Regions from separate parts of the Homo sapiens genome. Here region 2 is linked to region 1. The links are contacts of gene promoters, found by promoter capture Hi-C in blood cells and fetal thymus (Javierre and others, 2016). All regions are on one chromosome and are shown on one strand. Each heading gives the region's core, a stretch centred on a gene start or on the middle of the fragment in contact. The rest is flanking DNA. Distances are from core to core; before and after follow the strand shown.

Evidence for each region. Contacts are between HindIII fragments. The CHiCAGO score rates a contact against its expected background, and 5 or more counts as called.
Region 2: a contact is called between a fragment that was not itself captured here and the fragment with the promoter of CYTH1 in region 1, in 1 of 17 cell types (monocytes). The highest score is 5.9, in monocytes.

The regions. Positions count from the first base shown.
Region 1 is chr17:78,779,864-78,783,959 of GRCh38, reverse strand. It overlaps CYTH1 (cytohesin 1), which reads left to right and starts at 1,687. Exons shown (of 14, transcript NM_004762.6): 1 at 1,687-1,758. The coding sequence starts at 1,737. RefSeq lists silencers at 1,428-1,587, 1,628-1,907, 2,168-2,567 and an enhancer at 3,586-3,685. The HindIII fragment of the contact is 19,906 bases long and covers 1-4,096 here.
Region 2 is chr17:78,517,893-78,521,988 of GRCh38, reverse strand. The region is part of intron 25 of DNAH17 (dynein axonemal heavy chain 17); the gene reads left to right. Among named protein-coding and RNA genes, the nearest start is that of DNAH17-AS1, 35 kb to the right of the region's middle. The HindIII fragment of the contact is 2,111 bases long and covers 1,119-3,229 here.

The DNA.
Region 1 (4,096 bases), core at 438-2,937:
ATGTGGGGTCAATTCTAAAAGTGTCCTAAGTCTAGGCCAAGAGGAACAAAATGCAGCTGGGTCTCTGACCTCACACGCCGAAGCCCAAGGACACGTTAGGGCCAAAATGTGACTCTCTAAGGTCACCTGTAAAACTGGACAATCTGGTAAAGTCAGTGAAGGTTAAGATCATGAATCCAGCCAGGCGTGGTGGCTCACGCCTGTAATTCCAGTACTTTGGGAGGCCAAGGAAGGAGACCAAAGAGAAAGGATCACTTGAGCCTAGGAGTTCGAGACCAGCCTGGGCAACCTAGCAACCTCCGTCTCTACAAAAAATACAAAAATTAACCAGGTATGGTGGCCGGTGCCTGCAGTCTCAGCTACTCAGGAGGCTGAGGTGGGAGAACTGCTTGAGCCTGGGAAGCAGAGGTTGCAGGGAGTCATGATGGTGCCACCGTACTCTAGCCTGAGCAACACAGCGAGTGAGACTCTGTCTCAAAATGAATAAATAAATAAAAGAAAAAGAAAAATAGTAAAACTCAGGACAGGTGGGCCCACAAGGAAAGAGTTCTGTGGCTTTTACTCCCGTTTTTTGGTTGGTCCAAAAAATTCCCAGCAGTCCAGGGATCTCTGTGGAGTTCTCAGTGAGTGTTCTGTGTAGGGTGCAGGAGCCACAAGTGACTGCAGGGGGAAAGGGGGGTTCTGGTGCTGGCATTCTGCAGCAGTGGGATTGTCCTCTGTCATAAAGAAAGAGAAGGCCGAGCGCGGTGGCTCATACCTGTAATCCCAGCACTTTGGGAGGCCGAGGCAGGCGGATTATTTGAGGTCAGGAGTTCGAGACCAGCCTGGCCAACATGGCGAAACCCCGTCTCTACTAAAAATACAATTAGTCGGGCCTGGTGGCACATGCCTGTAATCACAGCTACTCAGGAGGCTGAGGCAGGACAATCGCTTGAACCCGGGAGGCGGAGGTTTCAGTGAGCCGAGATCGGGCCACTGCACTCCAGCCTGGGCAACAAGAGCGAAACTCGTCTCCAATAAATAAATAAAATCCAAAACGCTGGGACTTGAAGTGCCCTCCTTTCAATCTTGACCCAGGTAAAACTCAGGACAAATAAAAAGAAGTAGAAGCAGTAAACTTAGGACATACAGCATGTAAAGGTTCTGAACGCAGGAGTAAATGACTTCAAATAGCTTTTGTGGCCTTTCGCCAAGGACCGGGCCCTCCCTGGCAAGCTGGGGCCGGGTCTGACCTTCCAGGTTGGCGTCAGCAAGGACCACCCTGCCCTTCAGTGGCCGGACACGACCTTGGGCTTTCGTGCAGTAGCCTGGCTGCAGGCCAGGTCGAGTCCGCCACCCCGGGGACTTGCACCGCCCTTCAGAAACCGAAACCTGCTCGGCCCCAGGAGGCGGACCGGGAGAAGGGGGGGGGGTGTGTGTGTCTCGGGACGGGGGCGTGGTCTAGAGGCGGGGGCAGGGGAGGAGCCTCGGGTGGACGCGCGTGCGCAGGCCGGAGCCTCGGGAGGAGGCCGGGTACCCGGGGTGCGGCGCGCGCGGGAGGAAGGCGGGGCCTCGGGCGAGGGGCGGGGCCTCGGGCCGGGGGCAGGGGGCGGGCGCAGGCGCAGGCGCGGGCGGGCGGGGCGCGGGGCGCGGGGCGCCGGGGGCGGGGCTCCGAGCCGGGCTGAGGCGAGCGGGGGCGCGGGTGGCGCGGCGGGACGCGAGCGGCGAGCCGGAGCGCGGAGCCCGGCTCCCGCACCATGGAGGAGGACGACAGCTACGGTCAGTGCGCCCCGGCGGCGGACGCTTCCCCCTCGCTGTCCCCCAGTCCCCTCCGGGCCCGGCCGTCCGGCAGCGCTTGCGGCGGCTGGCGTTTCCCGGGGACACTGGTGCGGGACGCGGAGCCCGGGGCGACCGGCGGGCGAGCGGTGCGCGGGGCCCTCGCGGGGCGGGGGTCGCAGGGGGTTTTGAGGGATGAGGGTCGCCGGGGCCGGGGTCGCTGGCGGCGCTGAGGGATGTGGGTGGCTGGGGCGGGGGTCACAGGCCGGGCTCGCGGTCTCGCGGGGCCAGGGGTCGCCGCGAGCTCTGAGGAATGAGGGTCGTTGGGGTCGCGGGGCAGGATCTCAGGGGCTCTGAGGGATGAGAGTCGTTGGGGTCGCTGGGGTCCCCGGGGCAGGGGTCGCAGTCCGGGTCCCGGGGGGCCGAGGGGTGGAGGTCGCTGGCCCTGCCGCCCCTCTGCGGGGCTCGGGGCGGACGCGCGGATGGCCGGGCCCGCGTTCCCCGCAGTTTCCGGCCGCTCTCGGCGTCAGCGAGTTGTGCCCGGTCCACGTCTTTGTTCAGAAATGAGAACGGGGAGCGGCGCCGCCGGCGAGGCGCGGGCTCCGGGACGGCCCTGCCCGCGGGAGTCTGGGCCCGGTAGCCGCCGGTCCGGTGCGTCGCCGCCTGCCGAGACGCGGGTGTGGAGCCCGAGGGGCACCGCGGTGGGGACGCCGCTCCTCCCCTGACTGGGGACTTGGCAAGCGGAGCCGCTGTCCCGCTCCCTTCGCTCCCGCGCGTTGAGGCTGCTGGCCCAGGCCAGGGGTGCCTCCCTCCAAGAGTTTGAAATTGCAAGGGTTGCAAAAGGTTGTTTGACATGCTGTAGTTAATTTATTAAGTTTGTTCATGAGGAATTAAAAGGAAGAATGGCAAATAGAACAAGTGGTGAACTTTTGTGGTTTGGTAGCAAAGTACAAATAAAGCAGAACTCTGTGGCCAAATGGAACCCAATTCTAGTTTAATAACTAATGGGACATTTTTCTTTTTTTTTTTTTTTTAAGAGACGAGATCTCGCTCTGTCACCCAGGCTGGAGCACAGTGGCGTGATCGTAGCTCACGTCAGCCTCTTGAGTGGCTGGAACCATACGCACGCCACCATGCCCGGCTAATTTTTTATTTTATTTTATTTTATTATTTTATTTTATTTTATTTTATTTTTGAAACGGAGTCTCACTCTGTCGCCCAGGCTGTAGTGCAGTGGCGCCATCTCGGCTCACTGCAACCTCGGCCTCCTGGGTGAGCTGAGCGATTCTCCTGCCTCAGGCTCCTGAGTAGCTGGGACTACAGGCGCGTGCCACCACGCCTGTCTAATTGTTGTATTTTTAGTAGAGACAGGGTTTTGCCATGTTGGCCAGGCTGGTCTTGAACTTCTGACCTCAGGTGATCCACCCGCCTCGGCCTCCCAAAGTGCTGGGATTACAGGCATGAGCCACCGCGCCCAGCCCTAATTTTTTACTTTTTTAAAAGATGGGGTCTTGCCATGTTACCCAGGCTGGTCTTGAACTCCTAGACCCAAGCAGTCCTCCCACCTCTGCCTCGCACAGTGTTGGGATTACAGGCCTGAGCCACCACACCCAGCCCACTTGTTACCTTATAAGTAAACAAGTAAAAGCAGCTTGTGCATTTTTTTGTTGTTTGTTTTGTTGTGTTTTTGAGACAGGGTCTAGCTCTCTTGCGCAGGCTGGAGTGCAGGGGCGCTCTCATAGCTCACTGCACGCTCTGCTTCCTTGGCTCAAGCAATCCTCTCACCTCTCTTCTCAGCCCCTCCTGTAACCTGGACTACAGGCCTGGGCTACCACGCCCTGCTAATTATTTTTATTTCTTTTTGTAGAGAGGGAGGTCTCCCTATGTTGCCTAGGCTGGTGTGAACTCCAGTTCCTATCTTGGCCTCCCAAAGTGTTGGGATTACAGGCATGAGCCACTGCTCCCAGCCTCCTTTTGTGATTAAAAGAAAAATCACCCACTGGCTGGCCCCAAAAGATTGTTCAGCCCCTCCAGATTTCACTCCTGCCCACTGCTGAGAAGCCGACAGCAGTTTTGCCTGCTGCTCTTTTCTCTGCCTCCTCTTGCCATTTAATTTCCCTCAGATCCCAGTGTCCTGCCTACCAGGCTTTTGTGGCCTCTCTTGTGTTCTTGCCTGCTGCCGTGGGCAGGAAGCTATTGGTCTGGTTGCTTTTAATACAGTGACTGCTTTGCCACCAGGCATGACATGAACTTGTACTTGAAAGAGGTAAGTGGAAGCAGGGCGTGTTAGTTTCCTATACCTGTTATATTACCACAAGCCTGGTGGCTCAAAACAACATAA
Region 2 (4,096 bases), core at 925-3,424, 260 kb after region 1:
TTTGAGGCGGAGTCTCACTCTGTCGCCCAGGCTGGAGTACAGTGGCACGATCTCAACTCACTGCAACCTCTGTCTCCTGGGTTCAAGGATTCTCTCGCCTCAGCCTCCCGAGCAGCTGGGATTACAGGCGCACGCCACCACACTTGGCTAATTTTTGTATTTTTAGGAGAGATGGGGTTTCATCATGTTGACCAGGCTGGTCTCTAATTCCTAAGCTCAGGCAATGCGCCCGCCTTGGCCTCCCAAAGTGCTAGGATTACAGGTGTGAGCCACCATGCCCGGCCAGTTTTAGTATAATCTTTAAAGTTTTTAATATGAAACTTGGGTATAATCCATTTTATCAATTTTTCCTTTCATAGATTATGAACTCTTTTCCTAGATCCTAAAGATTTTCTCCTATGCTTTTATAGTTTTCTGCTTTCTGTTTGTCTATGAGCCATTTTGAGTTAATTTTTGTATAAGGAGTGAGGTTTATTGGGTTAAGGTTCATTTATTATTTTTGTTTGTTTATGGATGTCTAATTGCTCCAGCATGTTTGTAGACAAGTCGGTCCCTCCATTAAAAAAAATTCTTTTTTTCTTTGAGATGGAGTGTCGCTCTTGTCACCCAGGCTGGAGTGCTGTGGTGCGATCTTGGCTCACTGCAACCTCCACCTCCCCGGTTCAAGCGATTCTCCTGCCTCAGCCTCCTGAGTAGCTGGGATTACAGACACACACCACTCCACCCAGCTAATTTTTGTATTTTCAGTAGAGATGGGGTTTCGCCATGTTGGCCAGGCTGGTCTTGAACTCATGACCTCAAGCGATCCACCTGCCTCAGCCTCCCAAAGTACTGGGATTACAGGCGTGAGCCACAGCGCCTGGCCCCGCTCCATTTAATTTATTTTGCATCTTTATCAAAAGTCAGTTGGGCACCTTAGACTGCTGCTGTTGATGGGTTCTGTGCTCTGTTCCATTGGTCTTCGTGTCTGTCCCTCCATGATACTGCACAGTCTTGATTCCTAGAGCAATCTAGTAAGGTTTGTTATCAGAGCGATTCCTCCCACTTTATCCTTTTTTGTCAAGATTGGTTTGCTCTTCTAGGACTTGTACTTTTCCATATAAATTTTAGAATAAGCTTGTTATGCTTATAAAAAAATAAAACCTTATTGGGGTTTTTATAGGAATTGCGTTAAAACTATTAATCAATTTGGAGAGAACTGACATGTTGACTCTGTCTCCCAGTCCATAACATAATGTATCTCTCCATTTATTTGGCTCTTCTTTGATTTTTTTGTGATTTCATTTTGTTATAGCATTTAAGATCCTATACATGTTTTGTTACATTTATACCTCATGTGTCTTTCCTTTTCTTTTTAGAAGTGATTGTATTAATAAGTGGCGTTGCATCTTAAATTTTGGTTTGCACATGTTTGTTTGGGTATATACAAATGTGAATAATTTTTATGTGTTTGTTTTTCTCTTGTGGCCTTGCTAAACTCACTTACTAGTTCTAGGATGGCTTTTTTAGACTCCTTAGGGATTTTGTACATAGACAATAATGTCATCTGCAAATAGGAACAGTTTTATTTTTCCTTTCCATTCTGTATGTCTTTTACTTCTCTTTCTTGCCTTATTGCAGTGGCCTGAACTTCCAGTACTCTGTTGAATAAGAGTGGTGAGTTCACACATCCTTGCATTGTTCCCAATCTAAGAGGAAAACCACTTTGCCATTATGTATATTAGCTGTAAGTTTTCAAATTGAGGAAATTCTATTCCTTTTCTTTTTATTCATCATGAACAGGTGTTAGATCTTGTCAAATTTTTTTGTGTTTACTGATATGATTGATTTTTGTTTAGTCTGCTAAGATAATTGATTACACTGACTTTTTTTTTCTTGAAACAGAGTTTCGTTCTATCGCCCAGGCCTGGAGTGCAGTGGTGTGATTTTGGCTCACTGCAACCTCTGCCTCCTGGGTTCAAGCGATTCTCCCACCTCAGCCTCCTGAGTAGCTGGGATTACAGGTGCCCACCACCACACCCAGCTAATTTTTTGTATTTTTAATAGAGACAGGGTTTCACTATGTTGGTCAGGCTGGTCTCAAACTCCTGACCGCAGGTGATCCACCCACCTCAGCCTCCCAAAGTGCTGGGATTACAGGCGTGAGCCACCATGCCCGGCCATTTCCATGAGATTTTTAGTTACAAATTCAATTTCTTTAATGGCCATACAGGCTTGTTCACGTTGGTCTGTTTCAAATTTGTGAAAATCTTGGTAGTGAATTTTGGTAGCTTGTGGTTTTTGAGGAATTGGTTTATTTCTTCTAAATTGTTTAATTCAAGCAAGCATAAAGTTGTTTATACTAGTTCCATACTATCCTCTAGATGGCTGCAAGCTCAGCAGTGGTATCTTCTATTTCATTCCTAGTGTTGGTGACTTATGTCTTCACTCTTCATCTTTGTCGGTCATAATAGAGGTTTATAAACTTTATTGATTTTTCAAAGAAAAAGATTTTTGTTTAACTTTTGTGCTGTTTTATTTTAAACTTCATCAGTTTCTGGTCTTTATTATTTTGTTCCTTCCTTTGCTTTGGGTTTATCTTGCTCATTTTCTAGTTTATTGAGGTAGAAACTTGGATTATTGATTTGAGACCTTTTCTCTTTTCTAAAGGAAACACTTCGTGCTATAAAATTTCCCTCTCTACATTAGCTGCGTCCCACGTATTTTGATATTACATTCAGTTCTGTGTGTTTTTTAATTTCTTTTGAGGCTTCCTCTTTGACCCATGGATGATTTAGAAGTATATTTTACATTTCTTTTTTTTTTTTTTTTTTTTTTTTTTGAGACGGAGTCTCGCTCTTTCACCCAGGCCAGACTGCAGTGGCGCTATCTTGGCTCACTGTAAGCTCCACCTCCTGGGTTCACGCCATTCTCCTGCCTCAGCCTCCCGAGTATCTGGGACTACAGGTGCCCGCCACCACGCCCGGCTAATTTTTTGTATTTTTAGTAGAGACGGGGTTTCACCATGTTAGCCAGAATGGTCTCGATCTCCTGACCTTGTGATCAGCCCACTTCGGCTTCCCAAAGTGCTGGGATTACAGGCGTGAGCCACCACGCCTGGCCTGTATTTTAAATTTCTAAGCGTTTAGAGATTTTCCTGTTTCCTTTCTATTATTGATTTCTAGTTTGATTCCATTATGGTCAAAGAACACACTGTATATAACTTTCATTATTTTAAATGTATTAAGCTTTATTTTATGGATCAGGATATAGTCTGTCTGGGGGAATGTCCCATGGGCACTTGAACAGAATGCGTATTCTGCTTCTGTTGGGCGGAGTGTTTTATACGTGTCAATTAGATCCTGTCAGTTGGTTGTGTTGTTCTGTCCTTTTATAGTCTTGCTAATTTTCTGTCTAGCAGTTCCATAAACTGCTGAGAGTGGGGTGCTGAAATCTCTCCAACTATAATTATAGATGTGTTTATTTCTCCTTTCAGCTCCATCAGTTTTTGCTTTGTGTATTTTGAGGCTCTGTTGCTTGGTGTGTACAGATTTGGGATTATTGTCTTCTTATAGGTTGACCCTTTTTCCCATTATGTAATGTTCCTTTTGTCTCTAGGAATTTTCTTTGCTCTAAGGTTGGCTTGATCTGATACTAGTATAGCTACTTCTGTTTTTTCTATTGTTTTTGACTAGTGTTCGTCCTGATCTTTCTCCATTTTTAAATTTTCAAGCTACCTATATTTTTGTGTTTGAACTGAGTTTCTTATATACAGCATATGATTGGGTCATGTTTTTTCGTCCACTCTGCCAGTCTCTGGCTTTTAATTGATCTGTTTAGACCATTTTGCATTTAAGGTAATTATTGTCATGTTACAGCCTATGTCTGCCATTTTGTTTTCTGTTTGTTCCCTTTGTTTCTTATTCCTCTGACTCTCTTTTATTTTAACATTTTTAGGATCCATCCTGATTTATTTAGAGTGATTCTGAACATAGCGCTTTATATAGTTTTCTTAGTGGCTGTTTGACAGTCACTGATATCAACATTTTGTCACTTTTGTGTGTAGAAACCTCACTTCCATTTAGATCTCTTTGCCCTCACCTCTGCCCCTCTTAAC